Regions from separate parts of the Homo sapiens genome. Here all the other regions are linked to region 4. The links are contacts of gene promoters, found by promoter capture Hi-C in blood cells and fetal thymus (Javierre and others, 2016). All regions are on one chromosome and are shown on one strand. The core of a region is centred on a gene start or on the middle of the fragment in contact, and the rest is flanking DNA. Distances in the headings are between cores, read along the strand shown.

The links. The method cuts DNA at HindIII sites, captures the fragments that hold promoters and counts their contacts. A CHiCAGO score of 5 or more calls a contact.
Region 1: a fragment that was not itself captured here is called in contact with the fragment with the promoter of NCAM2 in region 4 in 2 of 17 cell types (naive B cells and total B cells); the score reaches 11.5 in naive B cells.
Region 2: a fragment that was not itself captured here is called in contact with the fragment with the promoter of NCAM2 in region 4 in 4 of 17 cell types (total B cells, naive B cells, endothelial precursors and 1 more); the score reaches 22.0 in total B cells.
Region 3: a contact is called between a fragment that was not itself captured here and the fragment with the promoter of NCAM2 in region 4, in 2 of 17 cell types (M0 macrophages and naive B cells). The highest score is 7.5, in M0 macrophages.
Region 5: a fragment that was not itself captured here is called in contact with the fragment with the promoter of NCAM2 in region 4 in 8 of 17 cell types (endothelial precursors, total B cells, M2 macrophages and 5 more); the score reaches 23.2 in endothelial precursors.
Region 6: a contact is called between the fragment with the promoter of C21orf91 here and the fragment with the promoter of NCAM2 in region 4, in 2 of 17 cell types (total B cells and M0 macrophages). The highest score is 5.3, in total B cells.
Region 7: a contact is called between a fragment that was not itself captured here and the fragment with the promoter of NCAM2 in region 4, in 3 of 17 cell types (total B cells, endothelial precursors and naive B cells). The highest score is 6.9, in total B cells.

The regions. Positions count from the first base shown.
Region 1 is chr21:25,043,297-25,045,996 of GRCh38, reverse strand. The region is part of intron 3 of LINC01692 (long intergenic non-protein coding RNA 1692); the gene reads right to left. Among named protein-coding and RNA genes, the nearest start is that of LINC01692, 200 kb to the right of the region's middle. The HindIII fragment of the contact is 4,295 bases long and covers 1-2,700 here.
Region 2 is chr21:24,508,525-24,511,224 of GRCh38, reverse strand. All of the region lies in intron 1 of LINC01684 (long intergenic non-protein coding RNA 1684), which reads right to left. Among named protein-coding and RNA genes, the nearest start is that of LINC01684, 81 kb to the right of the region's middle. The HindIII fragment of the contact is 221 bases long and covers 1,244-1,464 here.
Region 3 is chr21:25,396,824-25,399,523 of GRCh38, reverse strand. The region is part of intron 4 of LINC00158 (long intergenic non-protein coding RNA 158); the gene reads left to right. Among named protein-coding and RNA genes, the nearest start is that of LINC00158, 34 kb to the left of the region's middle. The HindIII fragment of the contact is 1,637 bases long and covers 584-2,220 here.
Region 4 is chr21:20,997,063-20,999,762 of GRCh38, reverse strand. It overlaps NCAM2 (neural cell adhesion molecule 2), which reads right to left and starts at 1,354. Exons shown (of 18, transcript NM_004540.5): 1 at 1,145-1,354. The coding sequence starts at 1,199. The HindIII fragment of the contact is 4,236 bases long and covers 425-2,700 here.
Region 5 is chr21:25,378,978-25,381,677 of GRCh38, reverse strand. No RefSeq gene overlaps it. Among named protein-coding and RNA genes, the nearest start is that of LINC00158, 51 kb to the left of the region's middle. The HindIII fragment of the contact is 998 bases long and covers 792-1,789 here.
Region 6 is chr21:17,817,937-17,820,636 of GRCh38, reverse strand. C21orf91 (chromosome 21 open reading frame 91) reads left to right here and starts at 1,281. Exons shown (of 5, transcript NM_001100420.2): 1 at 1,281-1,334; 2 at 2,312-2,445. The coding sequence starts at 2,319. All of the region lies in intron 2 of LOC124900465 (a long non-coding RNA gene), which reads right to left. RefSeq lists an enhancer at 587-636 and a silencer at 887-1,666. The HindIII fragment of the contact is 2,618 bases long and covers 1-1,834 here.
Region 7 is chr21:25,413,342-25,416,041 of GRCh38, reverse strand. The region is part of intron 4 of LINC00158 (long intergenic non-protein coding RNA 158); the gene reads left to right. Among named protein-coding and RNA genes, the nearest start is that of LINC00158, 17 kb to the left of the region's middle. The HindIII fragment of the contact is 1,647 bases long and covers 579-2,225 here.

The DNA of each region.
Region 1 (2,700 bases), core at 87-2,586, 4.0 Mb before region 4:
CCTTTTTTCTAGTTGAAGCATTGCAGGATGAATGCATAGCTATGAATAAATACTTAAAGCCATTCCATTTATAGAAGTGTATTTTTCAATGAGAAAGTGAAAGCCGAATTCTTTAATTTAATTTGACAAACACTTCCTCACCTAAAAGTGTGTATGTATTTTGTACTTATTTTTTGCTATCTGAAGATGAGAAGCGAGAGATGAGGTATATAGATGAGAGGATTATCAACGAGCAAGGCCAACAGGATCAGAAAAATAATGTACAGTATATGATAAGCATAATCCTATCAGAAGTGTGAAAGGAAATGGTAATAATGAGTATACTCATTTTCTCATTAGCTCCTAGACTTTTCTATCTCAATTTGAACTAGAACTTTAGGCTCACTATGTGCAAATCCTTACTCATATTGTATTTTCATATTATATTTTTTCCTGCTTCTCCTCTCTTCAGTCTTGCAATCTGACTTGCCCTTTACTTTGTATTTATTTCCTGCTTTCCTAGATTAATAGCATCAACATCTGCTTAGCATCTCAGTTAGAAATCACAAAATTGTCTGCAATTCTTCCATGTTCCACATCTTGGAGTGTCATTCATAACCATGACACTCACTACTCTAGCGGGTCAGATATATCCATCTCTTCCACTCCATTGGCTCTGCCCAATTTTCTATTTAGATGCTCATAAACTCTTCACTGTGCTATAACATAGTTTCTGGCTGCCAGCATCTCCTCAATCTGCACTGTCATGAGAGTTATTTTCCAAGACTGTATCTATACCCAATCAAGCCACTGAGTTAACAAACTAACTGTTCCCTGAATTTTATGACATAAAAACTTGAATTCTCTTTCTGATATATGTAAAAGACTATTCAAATCCTGTGAGGCTGACAATTTATAGTTCTCATTTCTCCACGTCATACTCCTTTGAATTTTGCAATGTAGTACCCATCTTTATGTGTCACTATTTATGAATTGCTTTTGCTGTTTAATTTCTCTTTGTTAATATCATATGTATTCCTGTCTCCAAAATAGCATCTGTTCCACATTTGGTATCATTTATCTTGAATTTAAAGAAATATGTAAAGCACCTTCTATGCTGATTCTTTTCCAGAAATAAGAAAATATTCTCCTGCCTATAAGTTGTGCCCACCCTGATACCAATCTTTTCTAGCAACATTTTTTTATAGGTGAACTATCAGATTTTTAAAGATACCATACCATTTTAAAATCTTACATTTTTCAAGACAAAACTAATTATTTGCTCTTTGAAAATTCTTTATAATATGTCAAGTTCTGTCCTGCAGTATACATAAATGTTCTACATTTATTTAAATGTAAGAATCTCTGAGGATCTGCATTGTTCTTTTTAGACTTGTGAATCTTTTATGAATTTTTGAAAATTTCATTATAAACCGACATTATATTCCTGAAAGGGCCATGACTGTTTCTGGACATCAAATTCTTAAATATTCTAAGGAGCCAGAGGCAATAGGTTTCTAACAGGCTTTCAGAGTTGTTTTTATTATGATCATTGTTCAACATTCTTGACTTAATTTCAACCTATTTTCCTTTAAAATGATTATTCTTAGTTCCTGCAAATATTCTCTTTGTCATTTGGGCTATATTTCCTGTATTCCACTGTGGTGTTTTGATAAATCTAATAATCTTTCTTCTTAACTGACACTGCAGGGTTTTAAGTTTATCACTTGATTGACATATAATTGCAATGCTTATTTCCTGAATCCCTAATTCCAGCCGTCTGGCTTAAGTACAGTTTTGCTCATTGTTGTATTAGAATAAAATATTTCTCATATTTTGTTTATGTTTCTAAGGCAGTCAACATATTCTCTGCCATGAGAAAATAACATATCTTCTTTTAATCCACTCCTATCTACTCCTGTCCCCCTTTGTTTGAACTGTTTCCATGTCTACAGTGGGACCTTTTTTCTTTACACAAATAGCAATTCAATATTCTGTGCTATAGCTTTTCAATTATACAGACTGTGATGGGCTAAATTGTGTCCCCTGAAAATTCATATGTTGAAGCCATAATCCCCCAGTACCTGAGAATGTGCCAGTATTTAGAGGCAGGGCCTTTAAAGAGATAATTATGTTAAAATGAGATTACTAGGGAGGGCCCTAAACCAAACTGACTGGTGTTCTCCCAAGAAGAGATTTGGACACACACAGAGACATCAGAAGTGTGTGTGCACAGAGGAAAAACCATGAGAAGAGGCAGCAACGGCACAGTCATCCGCAAACCAAGGAGAGGGACTCAGCAGAAACCAGCCCTTCCAACACCTTCATCTCAGACTTCCAGCCTCTAGAATTATAAATTCCTGTTGGTTAAGCCACCCAGTCTGCAATATTTTGTCATGGAAGCCCGAGCAAACTAATGCATAGATAAATAAATTACCTGTAAAAACACATGACACAATAATTAAATGTACATACAACAAACTAATTATATGTAAATATTTTGTGATAAATCGGAAGAAAAGATAGGAGAAATGTTCAACCTGGTTATGTTGTCTGTAAGCCCCTGGGCTTCTGCTGTTAGTGCTTCTATTGAAACTATGTTATTCAAATAAATTCTGAATTCATTACCTTTAAAACCTTAGTTAATGCAGGGATAAATGGAAAATATAAACTCGATTTCTGAGGAAAGATTACGAGCACTCTTATGTTAGTTATGTTTAT
Region 2 (2,700 bases), core at 105-2,604, 3.5 Mb before region 4:
GCTCTTCAGATGACACCATTTCATTTCAGGATCTTCGCTAATGAATTTGTCAGTTGTTGTTTGTAATTATTTATGAGCCATTAGCTCAATGTTGTTATTACATCCTGACAACAGTGACATTTTAAAGAGCTTTGGATAATAAAATACACTTCTTATATACAATGCAATGTATTCTCCATTATTTTTATAACAACATGTCTCTAGAAACCAGAATTTCTAATGTCTCCCAATACAATCGTTTGCCATGAAGCAGCGGTTCCTTCTCAAAGTGTTTGTTGTGCCCCAACCAGTAGCACCAGCATAACCTGGGAGTTTCTAAAAATAAAACATTATCGGGACCCCCTTTTACTGAATTAATCAGAAGCATTGGCAATGGAGCTCAGCAATCCATATTTTAATACTTCTCCCAGGTGACTATGATGCATATGGCAATTTAATAGCTATTGTTATATATTTAAAAGAGAGGTAAATAGTGTTTAATTATTATGTTAGTAATGTATGCTTTATGAGATACTCAAAGTTTTCACTTTAAATTACAAAGGATCTGTTAAATTTATGAATGATTAACCTGTAGGTTCAACTGTCCAATATTAGCTCAAATGCTAAACTGTAGAGAATAATAGTGCAGGAGGTGTCACCATACTGCTTCTTCTAGAAACATAGCACGTAGTTGATGCATGTAACAAAGACACATGTTTGAATTTCAGTTTTTTATTAAATGAGAAACATTCTAAGGTTTTCTAGAAAACCATTTACAGTAGGTTAATTTTCTCCCAAGACAACTGTGCCTAAAGACATTCATAAGTAAAAGAAATAATTTTCTGATAATGATTTACCAGGTTCTCCTTGGCAGGGCAGTCTGATGGCCACATTTCAATTAGGACTTGGTGGTACAGTCACCACGAAGAAATAAATGTCACCTGTAGCCTTACCAGTCCTCACTTACAAACATCCTCAATTCTTACTAAGTAAGATAGTCTGCCTTCCATCAATGGCAGTCTTCTTACAGCCTTCATTCTTTTCAGGGGTGTCCAATCTTTTGGCTTCCCTGGGCCACATTGGAAGAAGAAGAATTGTCTTGGGCTACACATAAAATACACTAACACTAATAATAGCTGATAAGCAAAAGAAAAATGCAAACTATTTTCATAATGTTTTAAGAAAGTTTACTAATTTGTGTTGGGCTGCATTCAAAGCCCTCATGAGCCCACATGTGGTCTGCGGGTCGTGGGTTGGACAAGCTTGTTTTAAATCTTCCTCAAGCTATGTAGTTGGTGTTTTCAAAGGTACTGGATTGTCCTTCAAACTATGCATTACTTTTCTATATGTTCATATTTCTAGAGTTGTTAAGGCCCCTTAGTGATTCACAATCACATATCCAAGGAAAAAAGATAGCAACATGTTGTGTTTTAGTATTAAGAATCTGTTGTATTTTGACCCCTCTTAGTGTGAAATAATAAAGCTTCCACAGCGTGTAAGGGGACCTGAATGGGTTGCTGCTGCTGCCTGGGGTGGCCAGCTTTTATTCCTTTATTTGTCCCCACCCACATCCTACTGATTGGTCCATTTTACAGAGTGCTGATTGGTGCATTTACAATCCTTTAGCTAGACATAGAAAAGTTCTCCAAGTCCCCACTCAACCCAGAAGTCCAGCTGGCTTCATCTCTCATTAGGATTTATAGAACACTGAAATCTAAATAATTATATATGTTTAAAATGGAAGTTACAGACTTAAAAATCTAGTTATTGACCATGTGATGATTTTGTAAGAGTTTACAGAACAATATTTAACTTTTGTCAGTAGAAAGATTTCTACCTGTAAAATTAGAGTACTCACAATAGTTTCTACTGAAGAGTAGGCTATCCCATGGGGATAATTTCTATATATCTGGAGACAGTGCTGTCAAAACTACTGCAAGCGATTCTCTTTCTTTCTCCTCTTCTCTCAAAATAACAGCCAACAAATAACTGAGCCATAAATCAGATTGCTCTATTTGTTAAATCAGCTGAAGCAAGCTGGTGACTGCTTTGTGAACCATTTATTTTAGTTGAATTCTACTCAGTTCTTCACATGCCCTAAATTTTACATGTATAATGGGTTAGTGGAGTTTTCAGAGTGTTCTGACAAGAGATCTAAATATATATGTTTGTTAAAATTCAAAGATGTGTGCTAATATGTAAAATATTTTGATGACCTTACTGCTTGGAAAAAAAACTTACTTGCTTACAATTTATTTAACAACCAGTCAGTATTAGAGTATGGCATAAATAGTTTTTCTTCACAATGCACTGTGGTACAAGTGCCTTAAAAATAAGGTGTACAAAATCCTTTCTTTCCATGTGTTTAAGTAAAGGCAAAAAGATGATAATACCACATGAGAGATGACAAGAACCTTAAGAAATTAGAGTGAGCAAAGAACTGAGAAAATATCTATAAACATACATAGGTAAAATACGCAAGTTTTCTTCTACAATATCCTGCTAGAAGCTGGGGTCTAGAACTTGTAACACTGCTGAAACACTTTGAAAGTATTCTGAACCACATTACAGTTCACATGTCATTCCTGAAGTTATTGCATTTCCAGAGTAACCACGAGGTAGTACAAGTAATACAATTTGAAGTGATATCTGAAGGTAGAGTTGCTGGATATAAATTTCTTATACTATGTTATGTTACTGAGGTAGGGAGGGGAATGGATA
Region 3 (2,700 bases), core at 153-2,652, 4.4 Mb before region 4:
TGGTAGCAGAGCTAGCTGGGTCTCAAACTCCTACCACTGGGACACAGCGTTCCTCTCTGGCTGGGGTTGGTGTTTCCTTCAGAATTCAGCTAAGTGAGCACTGGCTTGTGTTGTGTTCCGTTGTGACAAGGCAGCCCTGAGTTCCAATGCAAAGTTCCACAGTCACTCTGTTCTCCCTCCCCCAGGCACACAGATTCTCCCTCCACTTGCTGCTGCTGGAGGGTAAGGGAGAAGTGCTGTATACAGGGCAGGCCTGCCTTTCCTAACCCCATCGGTGCCTCTTTCCTTGATATGATGTCAGAATCAGGTACTGTGATCGTTCACCTGATTTTGGCTTTTATGAAGGTGCTTTTTTGCTTGAGTAGTTTTTCAATTTGGTGCTCCTGTTTGGGAATAATTGCTGGAGGGTTCTATTCAGCTATCTCATGACTTAAAGGTTGTCTGTTTAATTGAAATTAAATGTTCTAATATAAATCCAGCCCAAGGAAAGTACAAATTTATTTCAATTAGCATTTTTGAGGACTATATGAGAACTTTTTTTTTTTTTTTACTTTACATATGTCCTCAATAGATATATCAAGCTTGTCTGGGTGCAGAATTACCAATGGAATAATCACTTCTGTTCGACTACTATAAAGCAATTCCTACACCAAGAAAGTTGCCCAGGATTTTTGTATGTTTTTAAGCAGGTCCTTAAAAAGGGGGTCACTTCCCCTTTTGTAGGAGAAAAGAGCAATAAATATATTTAATGTTATACTCAGAAATATGAACATAAAGTGTAACTTCATGGATCCTGATTCTAACTGCAAATAATTTTCATTCTTCTGTGGTCACAACGCAGATAATCAGTTGTAATTGGAGGTCACGGATAAAAGCTAATCCTTGGCCCAGCCTGCTTATTCTCTCCCACTATCTGTATCTTACCCTCAGGCCCTCTGTGTCTGCTGCTCTTCTGTTACACTCAAGGTCCCCATGTAGACTTTTATTTAAGCCAGCAGTGTGTGGATCTAGAACTTGAAACCATTCATTTTTAGAATACAGTGATGCCTCAAGCCTAGATGAAATAACTGCTTCAATTAAATAGCGCCTTAAATGATAATTTGTGTTAACCCATATGCTATTTTAGTTTTTTTAGTTGAAAATAAATTTGTATGTATTTATGGTATAAAATATGATGTTTTGAAATATGTATGCATTGTAGAATGGCTAAATCAAGCTAATTAGCATACTGATAGTAAACTTTTTTTGTGGTAAGAAAATTTAAAATCCACTCTCTTTGCTATTTTCAAGTATTCAGTACATTGTTTTTAACTAGTCATCATGCTGTACAGTAGATCTCTTGAACGTATTCCCTCTATGTAACTGAAATATTGTATCCTTTGCCCGATTCTCCCCTCTGCCCTCAACCCTGGGTAACCATCATTCTAATCTCTGCTTCCATAAGTTCGACTTTTTTAGTTCTACATTTCAGTGAGATCATGCAGTGTCTGTCTTTCTGTGCCTGGCCATATGCCTTTTCATCTATGTTGTGAGTGGCTCTCACCAAATCAACAGCGACAAATTTAAACTAGGGAAATAGATTGCCAAAAATTACATTTGCTTTAAGTTTAAATGGGCAATGAACCATACCTAAATAAATAAATTAAAAAAAATCTTTTACACCAAGGGTGGCTACAAATATACCTAGAATAGTCAGCTCTAACACACATGGTGTTACTCAGAGTGATGTAATACCCCTTTGCTGCCTAATACATTCTTGTTGTCTTTTGACCTGTTAAGAATAAACAGTATATGGCACTCACTTGTGCTGAGCACTGTTTCCCACCTCTCATGTACCTTGACGCCTGGGGATAAACCCTATATTCGCATATCGCGCCTTCCATACCCACCTGTACCCTACATGCGCCAGGTAGAAGTGTTTCCATTCTCCCCTCTCCAATGGACTCTTTTCCCTGGTTTGGTAGCTACCTTTCCAAATCCCATCAGAAGATACATGTTTTATTCTGGCAAAACATATATTCTAGAACAAGTCTTCAAATCTCATTAAAGGCCACTCTTTACCCCTTATGCCTTAGTCCAGTTAATACCTTCATTAATGATTTTTTAAAAATTCAATGATTAGAAACCTTTTATCCTTCTTCCAAGGGAAGACTTTAGGACTTAACCATTAGACTTCCCTCATAAATATCTCATTCCCTATGAGGCAGGCATCTAAAAGCTTATAGCTAGTTGGATTTTAATTTGAAGGTTAAATTACAAACAGATCATTCTCCCTGAAATTAGTTAAGACTCTGTTTGTATAGAATAAAAAATTAATTCCGTAAAATCAGATATTAGATTGCAATGCTTTTTAGAATATTTTATACAATTATAAGATGATTATACATCTTAAATTCAGAAACAAAAGAAATGATTTTTAAAAAATGGAATATATTCTAAGACTATTAAAAGATTACATTGCAAAATCAATCAGAAATTTCAAATATACATAAAAACAAAGATGGCTTTCAAATATCTTTCACTGGAGATTTTAAAGTAAAATAATTCTCTGAAGGAGATATATATATATTATGGAATCAATTCATTCCAAGTTTCTAAAATTTTAAAAATCCATTTAATCTCTATCTCTTCTGTGTTATAATGTAGAATGTATTCATATTCAGATTATCTCTTTAAGTGGCCTACTTGATTTAAAGGAGA
Region 4 (2,700 bases), core at 105-2,604:
CTGGACCAAACGAGCAATACAGAAGAGGCTAAAAATGCTTAGAACTGAATATCTTGGGGATATTTTAACTTGTCTTGTAATTTATTATATTATTTTAAAAAACCAATTTCACACTACACTAACAACATAACATTCTTTGCAATCATTACATATCTCAAAATTAGTGCTATTTTATTTTTCCTTTAAAGACTTTCACCAATGCATGTTTTAGCATTTTGTGTCCCTAATTAAACGTCCAAACTTGTCTGGACAGTTGAAAATGCTTCCATTTATTGTAAATATATTTCATGTGAGTGTTTACTATCTAAACAGCCAGATAAATTCATATCTATCTCTCTAGAGACAAACAGTGATAGCTTCCACAAATTCCCTCTCAGGTTATTCTACCAGGCTATTCATTTTTTTTTTTTAAGAGATAAAAGCTTCCACCAGTTCTCCCACAACCCCAAAAATCCTCTACAGGTGTAATTACAATGTAATGTTATAAAATGATTCCACCTTTCTGTATTAATAAGGGGTTGGGGTCAAAATGAATGACTGCAACACATCCCTAGTTTTATCCATTTGCTTTCTTACACACAATATCCACGGCCCCTCTCTTAGTTTCCAACAGAAATAAGCCATCATCATTCACTTCATAGTCAGGAATTAGGGTTTTGGGAAAGGGGTGGAAAAAAAAAAGAGTCTCCAAGAATCGAACGTCTTGCACACAGCAGATATTTTGCAAATGAGTTTAACACTGATAGTTTTTGCTGCTTCTGTAAAACACCATCGTGCCCTTTCCTTCCGCAACCTCAGATATTTCACTGTTAACACACTCATCCAATTTCTGATAATAAAAATAAGAGAAAGCCATAATCCCAGAGGAAAAAAAAAGAAGAAGAAGAAGCGGTTTCCCTGGATATCCTGCTCACCGATTCCCCTCTCCAATTCTGTATTTTCCCTTCTCTTATTTAAGGGTCTCCACACAACAGATACAATTTTAGGGACAGCTAGGAGAAAGAACGAAAATAATAATAACAACAACAGCAATAACTGTAACTTTAGTTCTTTCATTTCATTCTTCCTGCGCCTCCCTCTTTGCCTCTCTTGGCCGGGTGGAAGGGGGAGGGAAAGTAAATGCAATAAAGCGCCACACTCCTACCTTGCCCGCTACTGACAAGCAACCCCAGCAGGTAGAAGGAGAGGAGGAGGCTCATGTTCAGGACGTGACACCGGTGGACAGTTTCAAAGTTATTAAGTCCAGCCCTGGAGAGAGAACCTTTCGCTGCCCCGGCCGCCTCTGCTAGAGCCGCCGCCGCCGCTCCCGCGGTGCCCCAGCCGCCCGCAGCCCGCGCGCTCCTCCTCGCAAAGTGACTGCAAGCTCCGCTCTTGCCGCACTATATCCAGGCAGCGGCGGCGGCAGCGGCGGCAGAAGCAGCAGCAGCAGCGGCCGCCGCGGCGGCAGCAGAGCCGGGCGGGGAGGGCGGCGGGGGCGGGGGCGCGGCGAGGGGAGGTGCGGCCGAGGCGTATCCCTCCGCGCTGCACGGCGGCCGCTCTTCCGCGAGGCGCGCGGTCCCGGGATTCGTCCGCAGTGGAGCTCGAAGTCACGGGTTCGGTCCCCGGTGCCTCCGCCTAGAGGGGCGGCCGCGATCGCGAAGGCGCCACTCGCCCGCCGGCCATCCGCAGGTTCATGCACGCCCTGAGCCGAGAAGGGCGTGGGGATGGGGGCAGCCTGGAGCTCCTTCACAGCCGCCGGCTGCCTCAGGACAGCTGAGCTGATGCTGAGCTGAGCTGAGCTGAGCTGATGCTCATGCAGATGCTGATGCTGATGCTGATGCTGATACTGATACTGCAGGCGACCGCCCCGAGCGCGCCCCGGCTCAACGTGAATGGGGGATCTGGAGGCGGGCGGTGTGCCCCGCAGCTTATTCCTTTTGGGCGTGGGAGGAGGGAGATTCTTGTCTCTCCGTGGACCTCCTTCTCCCTCTCTCGCTCAAACCTGGAGCAGGCTGGCCCCTTGCGCGGCTGTCCCCTTCCCACGCTCCCCACCCCGCCGCGACAGAGGGGAAGCAATTGTACCCTAAAGTCTACACTGTCTGTCTCCTCAGGCGCTAAAGGGTGGGCGGAAAAATAACGTACAGAGTGTTTCCTCTACATCTCGACCCATTGCTGTTGGGAGCGGCACCTTACGGGAGAGACACTGGAGAGGGGACGAGCCGCGGGAGGGGCTGCGTTCAACTCAGCCTTAGCCTCAGCTGTGTCCTTAGAGGCCTGAAGTCTCTCCTGGCCTCACTCCGCGGGCTCTGCCCTCGGTCCCAGTGCGCTGCACTGGCCAGATCCCCGCCAGGAGTGCACCGAGGGAGGACTGCAAATGTGCAAAGATGAGTTGGGTCGCGGGGGGGAGACCTTCCCCAGATCAGTGCCCTACCCCGAACACCCACGTACCCGCGTGTGCGAGTGTAAATTGAAGTGAGGGAGCCGTGGCAAACGCCCGGAACTAACTCTCTGCTCCTTAAGATTGGGGCTTATCGTTATTTCTCCTAGAAGGGTAGGAAAACGTTTGTGAGATTAACGTCACCTCTCCTGCAAGAGCGGTTAAGAGGCAGAATCACCGGCCCGGGTGCGGAGCCCATGTCAATCTGGCCTGGGGTTACCGCGACCTGCAAACGCTGACGATGGGTCCTTTCATCTGCACTTTCTCTCTGGCTCCTTAGAAAA
Region 5 (2,700 bases), core at 41-2,540, 4.4 Mb before region 4:
GGATTTGACTAGCTCTGTACAGATATCATCTGATGGAGTTTTCACCTGGTACCTTACCATGGACCTCTGACTTTTGTTAAAGGCTTTTCTGGAGCATCGGCATTGGATGTTCTTGGAAGCTTGCTCACCTCTCATGAGTGTGCAATCTGAGCACTGGAGGAGATAATGCCCTGTGAAGGATAAAAACCAATTGATAAATGGCTTCTTCTCTCTTTCCCCAGGCAGATAGTTTTGACATATATTCCATAAGAGTCCTTCAAAGATTCCAGGAGATCAAAAACCAATCACCAATTTGAAAAATCATTCTCATATTGAATTTTTCTCGTACCTTGTTCTACTTTCTTTCATTCCTGCTCTCTAGGATAATCACTTCCCAAATAGAGTGCTCCACCTAAGACTTTGTCTCAGGATCTTTTTTTAGGGATCACAGGTTAAGACACAGCAGAACCATCATATGAGCTAATTTTGATGAAAAAAACAATCTTTGGAGGAGACTTCTGGTTCCAAAATGGCAACATAGAAGCAAACTGGCCTTACTTTTCCCCATAGAATACCAAAAACAAATATGCAGTACGAAGATTATCACCAGCAATATCTCAGAACTCAAATATGAGGCTGAGATGTTCCTGGGGCCACAGAGAAGTGAAAAAACTCTAAGAAAACAGTAAGAGAATTGGACCTTCATATTCATGACATCCATCCTCCCATCTGCCCAACACCAAGCATGTGGAAAATTTTCCCAACTCACAGTTTCTATACTGGAAAAAGTGCGATCAAGGTGATAACAAGCTTCTCCATAATCCCAGGTTCTTTGGCAGGGTAACTGTCCCTGCCTCAACCCACAGGAAGCATTGGGAGTACCTAAAGGGAGAAATATCCTGGAAGACAGTTAGAGACAAAGAGGAGAGGCTGGACTACTGTTCTTAGCCCAGGAAGCTCTGCTCTGCAACTTGGTCAAAGAGATGGCAAATCAGAGTGGCTGTTCAGCAGCATCAAACTGTAAAAGGTTTGTTCCACAGGTCACTGGGCGTGAATCTTTAGGCACAGGCACCATTCTAATACTATTAAGTATCTCCTTTGTGACCTCTCTCATTTGAGATGGCAGCACTCTGATTGTTTCCTAGAATCAAGGGAGACTTGGGTGTAAGACACCATCTAGTACTGAAAAGAAGCAGTGACCAAGCAGAGGAAAAAGAAAATCAACAGAGAAATTACAAAGCATCTCTAAGCAAACATATCCAATAAAAACCCGAACAACTTAGACAAAAAGACTAGAATAAATAATAAATCCTTCAATGCAAAGGCATAGACATATATCCACAAGAAACAATAGCAAATAGGGAACCATCATTTCTCCAAAGGAACAAAGCCAGGATCCAGCAACTGACTCTAACTAGATGCTGATATGTGATCACTCTGACCAAGAATTCAAAATAGCAGTTTTAGGGAAACTCAGTAATCTCCAGGATAACACAGAAAAACAATTCAGAAATTTACCAGAGAGATTTAATAATGAGATTGAACTAATAAAAACAAACAGACAGAAATCTTGGAACTGGGAAATACATTTGCTGAATCAAAAATTCATTAGAAGCAGCAGAATGGCTTAAGCAGAGGAAAGAATCAGTGAGTTCAAAGATAGGCTATTTGAAAATACACAGACGAGAAAAAAGAAAAAGGATATAAAGAAATAATCACCAAAAAGAAATAGAAATTTAACTTGAAAGACTAAACCCAAGAATTATTGGTGTTCAAGAGGGAGTTGAGCAAGAGGAAAGAGTGGAAAGCTTATTTAAATACACAATAACAGAAAACCTTCCAAAACTAAATAAAGAGGAAAATATCTAAGTACAGGAAGGTCAGAGAACACCAAATAGGTGTCTGACCTAAATAAGACTACCAAAAGTCATATTACGATCAAACTTTCAAATGTCAAGGACAGAGAGAATCCTGAAAGCAGAGAAGCAAATAACGTATAAAGGAGCTCCAATTTGCCTAACAAACCTGTCAGTGAAAATCATACAGGCTGTGAGGGAGTGGAACAATATTTTTTAAATAACTTTTAGTTTAGGTTTTGGGGTACATCTGAAGGTTTGTTACATAGGTAAACTCATGTCACAAGGGTTTGTTGTGCGGATGATTTCATCACCCGGGTACTAAGCCCAGTGCCCAGTAGTCTTCTTTTCTGCTCCTCTCCCTTCTCCCGCCCTCCATCCCCAAGTAGACCCCGGTGTCTGTTATTCCCTTCTTTGTGTTCATGAGTTCTCATCATTTAGCTCCCACTTACAAGTGAGAACATGGAGTATTTGGTTTCCTGTTTCTGCATTAGTTTGCCTAGGATAATAGCCTCCAGCTCCTTCAGTGTTCACACAAAAGACATTAACTCATTCTTTTTTACGGCTGCATAGTATTCTGTGGTGTATATGTACCACATTTTCTTTATCCAAACTGTTGTGGTTGGGCATTTAGGTTGATTCCACATCTTTGCTATTGTGAATAGTGCAGCAGTGAACATTCACATGTATGTGTCTTTATGGTAGAATGATGTATATGCTTCTGGGTATAAACCCAGTAATGGAATTGCTGCGTCCAATGGTGGTTCTGCTTTTAGCTCTTTGAGGAATCACCATACTGCTTTCCACAATAGTTGAACTAATTTACACTCCTACCAATAGTGTATAAGTGTTCCTTTTTGTCCAC
Region 6 (2,700 bases), core at 32-2,531, 3.2 Mb after region 4:
ATCTTAGTCGTAGTTACCTAGAATGAGAAATTCGAAGAGAAAAAGCACAGGCTTTTCATTTCAATTAGTGCATCTCAAACTTCGATGAACATAGGAATCTCCTGGCGGTCTTGTTAAAGTGCAAGTATTGATTTAGGAAATCTCGAGTGGGGCCTGAGATTCTACATTTCTAACAGGAAACCAAGTAATGTCAATGTTGTTTGTTCATCTACTACAATTTAGGTGGCAAGGACACAGATCGCTCCTGCGAGGCACAAATGCCATAACTGGAGTGCTAATTTGGCCCAGAAGTTTCCAAGATCTAGACAGTCCATTCCTAACCATCAGTTCAAGAATGCCTACATGTAGATTGACAGGCTAGCCCTCTTTCTATGTGAGTGCAACCAGAACACATACATATGATGCTGTAGAAAATAACATTGATCTTAGGTCAGTAGCCTTCGGTTCAAGTCCCAGCCTTTTTCTAACCAACTGTGATAACCTGGGTCAATTACTCGTAGGCTGCAACATGAGAGAACAGTTCCTGTTTCTCCTCTGTAGGTTACTGTGAGGACTACAATGGAAAATGTAAGTGAAAGTACTGCAAGAACCATACCCTAAAAAAAACAGAATAGCTTAAACAAAAGTCAAGCAAAGAATTTGAGAACCAAGCAGGACCTAAAAATAAGAGGTGGGGCTTCGGGATTTTTCCCGTGGGCGTTGAGGGATGTACCATATTGGGGGCAGGGGCGCCCCACAACAAATAATGTATTTGAAAAGATTCTGTATTTGAAATTATGCCTCTATCATGACACCTGAATATGAACTTTTCCTTCGTTAGATACTTCAACTGGCACTTAACTATAAGTTCAGTGACAGTATTCTGCTTCTTTCTCCTGAAGTCAAAGTGCCACCCACGCACCTCTCCCGTTCTGCCATCCACCCGCGGCTTTCCTACCCCCGCCGCCTGCGGCCCCCGCCCCGGGGCAGTAGTTTGCACTAGGCTGAAGGGAGAGGTGGAACGGATTCGTCTATCTACGCACCTCGAGGAGGGGTGTGTGAGGAGCTACGTTCCAGAGAACGGTAAGAAACTCCGGCCAGGAAACACGGGATCACAGGAGAACTCGAGGCGAAGGTGCGGCGTCGGTGCAGGAGCGGAGGGGCGGACCCACAGCAGCCCGGCGAGCGCGCAGGTGTGCCCGCGGCCGCGCCACCCTCCCCGCAGCCTTTACGGGATGGAGCCGGCGGGAGAGGGCGGGGCCAGGCGCGCGGCGGCCGCCTCTGCTGCGGCCGGAAACAATAGTGGAGGAACCCGAGCCGCACGGAACGGCGGTGGTGGCCCGCGGAGCCGGACGGTAAAGACCCCGCAGCCCTGCTCCCATCCCACCTGAGCCCCGACCCCCAGTCCCATCGTTCCGCCTCCTTCGAGTTCCGAGCCCCGTGGCCCCTCGCGCTGCTGCGCGCCAGGCGCCCCGACGGACAGACCGACGGAAAGACGGACTTGGGTCCGCGACTCCCTGGGGGCGGCCGCGCGCCCCCAACGCCGAAGGCCGGGCCAGGACCCGGCTCCCCGAGACGCTGAGGCTGGGCGGACCGGCCGCCGTGGCCCTCGGACGCTTTCTTCCCTCTGGGAGGAATCCCGGAGCGATGGGACGAGGCTCTCCCGCCCGCCGGGCTCCAGGATGCCGCGGCTCTCCCAGCTCCGGCTTGGGCCCCTCCGGCGGTGCCCGGCCGGTACCGTGAAGCCGCCGCTCGGCCTTCGGTGTAGTTGCCCCGGACACGGCGGGACGCCCTCCCCGGGTATTCGGTACCCACGTGCATTTTGCTGCCGCCGATCTCCGTTCGATGCGAAGCTTCGCAACTCCGAGTTCGCGAGGCGCATCTGAGGTTCCCCCAATGAAGTTAGCAAAGCAGTGTCCCGTGCAGGTCGTTTTTCCTGTTTCTCACAGCGTTAACTAGGTTGACAGAACCTGGTAGCTGAAAAGGCCTCGCTGCTAAGCCCTCTGATTATTCGAGGTTGGGGGACGAAGGAGGAGGACTAGAATGCCGGCAAATCTCTTTCCTTCAGGTGCCACTAACCCAATCAACTATAGGACAAAAAAGACACGGACATAGTGTCACCTATGGCCTGGCTTTAAGTTTTACTAGCTTTGTGTCTTTCCACAGGAAAAGTGCAATGTTGGAGTGCAAGTATGGCGATGCTTGTTTGATGGAGCTTTTGCTTTAAATGAGCTGAACAGCATCCTTATTTCCTAGAAGTTCCCAGTAAAGGGAACTACCCCAAAGGCAGGTTCATGAAATTGTGTAACTTTCCTTTTCTGTTTCTTAATAGGGGCACTATGAACGAAGAGGAGCAGTTTGTAAACATTGATTTGAATGATGACAACATTTGCAGTGTTTGTAAACTGGGAACAGACAAAGAAACACTCTCCTTCTGCCACATTTGTTTTGAGCTAAATATTGAGGGTAAGGACACAGTATAGTTTTGATCTTATGGAATGAATTTAACACAGCTGCTTTGTACTGATTGTAAGGTAAAACTAAAATGTCTTCAATGATTGGAAATTGTGCTAAGTATGAATAGTGTAGAGATTTGTTAAAGATAAGGTTTCTGGAAATGAAGGTGCAGTTAACAGAGTTACGAATTTAAGAGAAATCTTTTTTTTTTAAAGACCCCTGCAACAACCCCATTTTTCCTAATACAGAAATAAGTATGAGTGT
Region 7 (2,700 bases), core at 153-2,652, 4.4 Mb before region 4:
ATGGAGCTGAACTTTTCCTCTGTGTTCTAGTTTTGTCTTATGCAGCAAATCTCTTCCAGTATCTCTTCTGTACGATGGGCTTTATTTACTATTTTACATGCGCATGTTTTAAATTCAATTATTTGAGAATTAGTTGCTTTAGCTTTGCATGACACTTCACTCCTTATTCATGACACTTCACTCCTACATACTTAAATGAGTATCTCAGAAGAACAAGAAGATTCTCCTCAAACCCACAATGCAGTGATCACACTCAAGACATTTAAAATTGATATAATACCATTATCTAATATATAGGCTTTAGAAAAAGTTCTTCAATTGTCTCTATGCAGTCTTTAAAATGTTTTTTAACTTTATTTTTAATTAACAAATATTATAAATAATTGGTATATATTATATATTTATGGGGTCTTGATGTGATGTTTTGATATTTGTTTACATTGTGGAATGATTAAATCAAACTAATTAACAAATTCATCCCCTCACATACTCATTATTTTTTTGTGGTGGGAACATTTAAAATCTACTCTTTAATTGTTTTTTATAATCACCATTCTGTGCAATAGATCACTAAAGCTTATTCCTCCTATCTAACAGAAATATTTTGCCCTTTAATAAACACATATGATAGACTTTAAATGCTTTTTTCTTCTGTAAGATCTCTTCAGTAGACTATTCATTATTGACAGAACTTGTAGACATTTACCATCATAATAATCTCCTTCCTTCAATGTTCCCTGTTATGGATAGAATGTTTGTGTCTAACATTTGTATTTCAAAATCTAACCCACAATGTGATGGTGATATAGTTTGAATATTTGTCCCCACCCAAATCTCATACTGAAATATAATTCCCAATTACATGGGGCCAGGTGGGGCCTGGTAGAGGTGTTTGGATCATTGAGGTGGATCCCTCAGGAATGTCTTGGGCCATCCCCTTCATGATAAGTGAGCCCTCGCACTGAGTTCACGTGAGATCTGGTGGTTTACAAGTGTGCAGCACCTTCCCCGACTCCCCACTGTTACTCTTGCTCCCGCTCTGGCCATGTGAGAAGGCTGCTCCCGCTTTGCCTCCTGCCATGAGTAAAAGCTCCCTGAGGCTTCCCCAGAAGCCCAGCAGATGCCAGGGCCATGCTTCCTGTACAGCGTGTAGAACTCCAAGCCAATTAAGCCTCTGTTCCTTATAAAGTATCCAGTCTCAGACATTTCTTTATAGCAAAGCAAGAATGGCCTAACACAGATGGTATTTGAAGGTGGAGTCTTCAGGAGGTAATTAGGTCATGAGGATGGAGCCCTCACAAATGGGATTAGTGCCCTTATAAGAAGAGGACAGAGAGCTCTTGCTCTCTTTCCACCATGGGAGGATACATTGAGGAGTTGGAAGTCTGCAACCCAGAAGGGGATCTTTGTTAGAATCCCACAATGATTGGACCCTGATCTCAGACTTCCAGCCTCAAGAATGTTTGTTGTTTAAGTACTAGTCTATGGTATTTTGTTACAGTAGCCCAAACTGATCAAGACACTCCCTATATTGCAAATGCACCTTCTAAAATGTGATAGAAATATTGGTTTAAGAAAATTTCAATTCAGCACAATTCAATTCAACAATGCAGGGAACAATCATCAAGCATTTATAATTTGCCAGGCACTCTATTAGGCCCTAGGGCTATATCAGTGAACATGAAAGATGATCTCCATTTGTCTTCCTGAAGATCACAGTCAGCCAAGACAGATATTCAATATTATTGAATAATTCATTAGTGGTAACAACTGTGATGAGCATTGCAAAAGAGGTTGTAAAGTTGTCTAAAGCAAGGGGAATTTAATCCTGGAGAATCATGGAAGCCCTCTATGATGAGGAGATATGAAGTGAAGACTTGAAACATGAGTAGAAATTAGAAGGATTTCTAATAGAAATTTTCTGGGATAACAGAGGTCCAGGCAATGGAAGTGGTACATGGGGAAGATGTGGGGCTGAGAGGTGCCTGAGAGCCAAGGGACACAGTGTTTAAGAAGAGGATTCCAAGTTCCTCTATCAATGCAGCAGGTCCTGCGTGGCCATTATTAGGTAATGGGGAACTCGCTGTTCAAAAAGGAGTAATACCTCCACTCTCTTCTTTCTGGGTCTTGCTATTTAGCTTTTACACTCTTTCCTTTTATTTCCTTGCACCATGGTGTTGACAACTATCTTGGTTATGTGAACATATTACTTCAATAATAAAGCTTTAAATGTTTCACTTATGGAAAAAGTGCTCAAGGCAGATAATCTCTCTTCTTCCTCCTTAGTTATATTTTTGTGTCACAATAATCAATTAGATAAAGACAAATCAGTGTCCATTGGGTTTAGCAGCAAGTAGCTCACTGGTAACATCACAAAGAGCCCTTAGTGGCTTAGTGAGAGAAAACCAGATTGCAGCGGGGTGGGGAGTGAATAGGAGGTGAGCTAGAGACTACAGGGAATGCAGCCACTCTTAAAAATCTTAGTTGTCGGGGCAAGAAGAGAGATAGTGTAAGCATCTAGAAGAAAAGAGGAAAAAAAATGTCTTTTTTATTATTATACTTAAAGTTCTGGGGTACATGTGCGGAACGTGCAGTTTTGTTACATAGGTATATACGTGCCATGGTGGTTTGCAGCACCCATCAACCCGTCACCTACATTAGGTATTTCTTCTAATGCTATCTCTCCCCTAGCCCCTCACC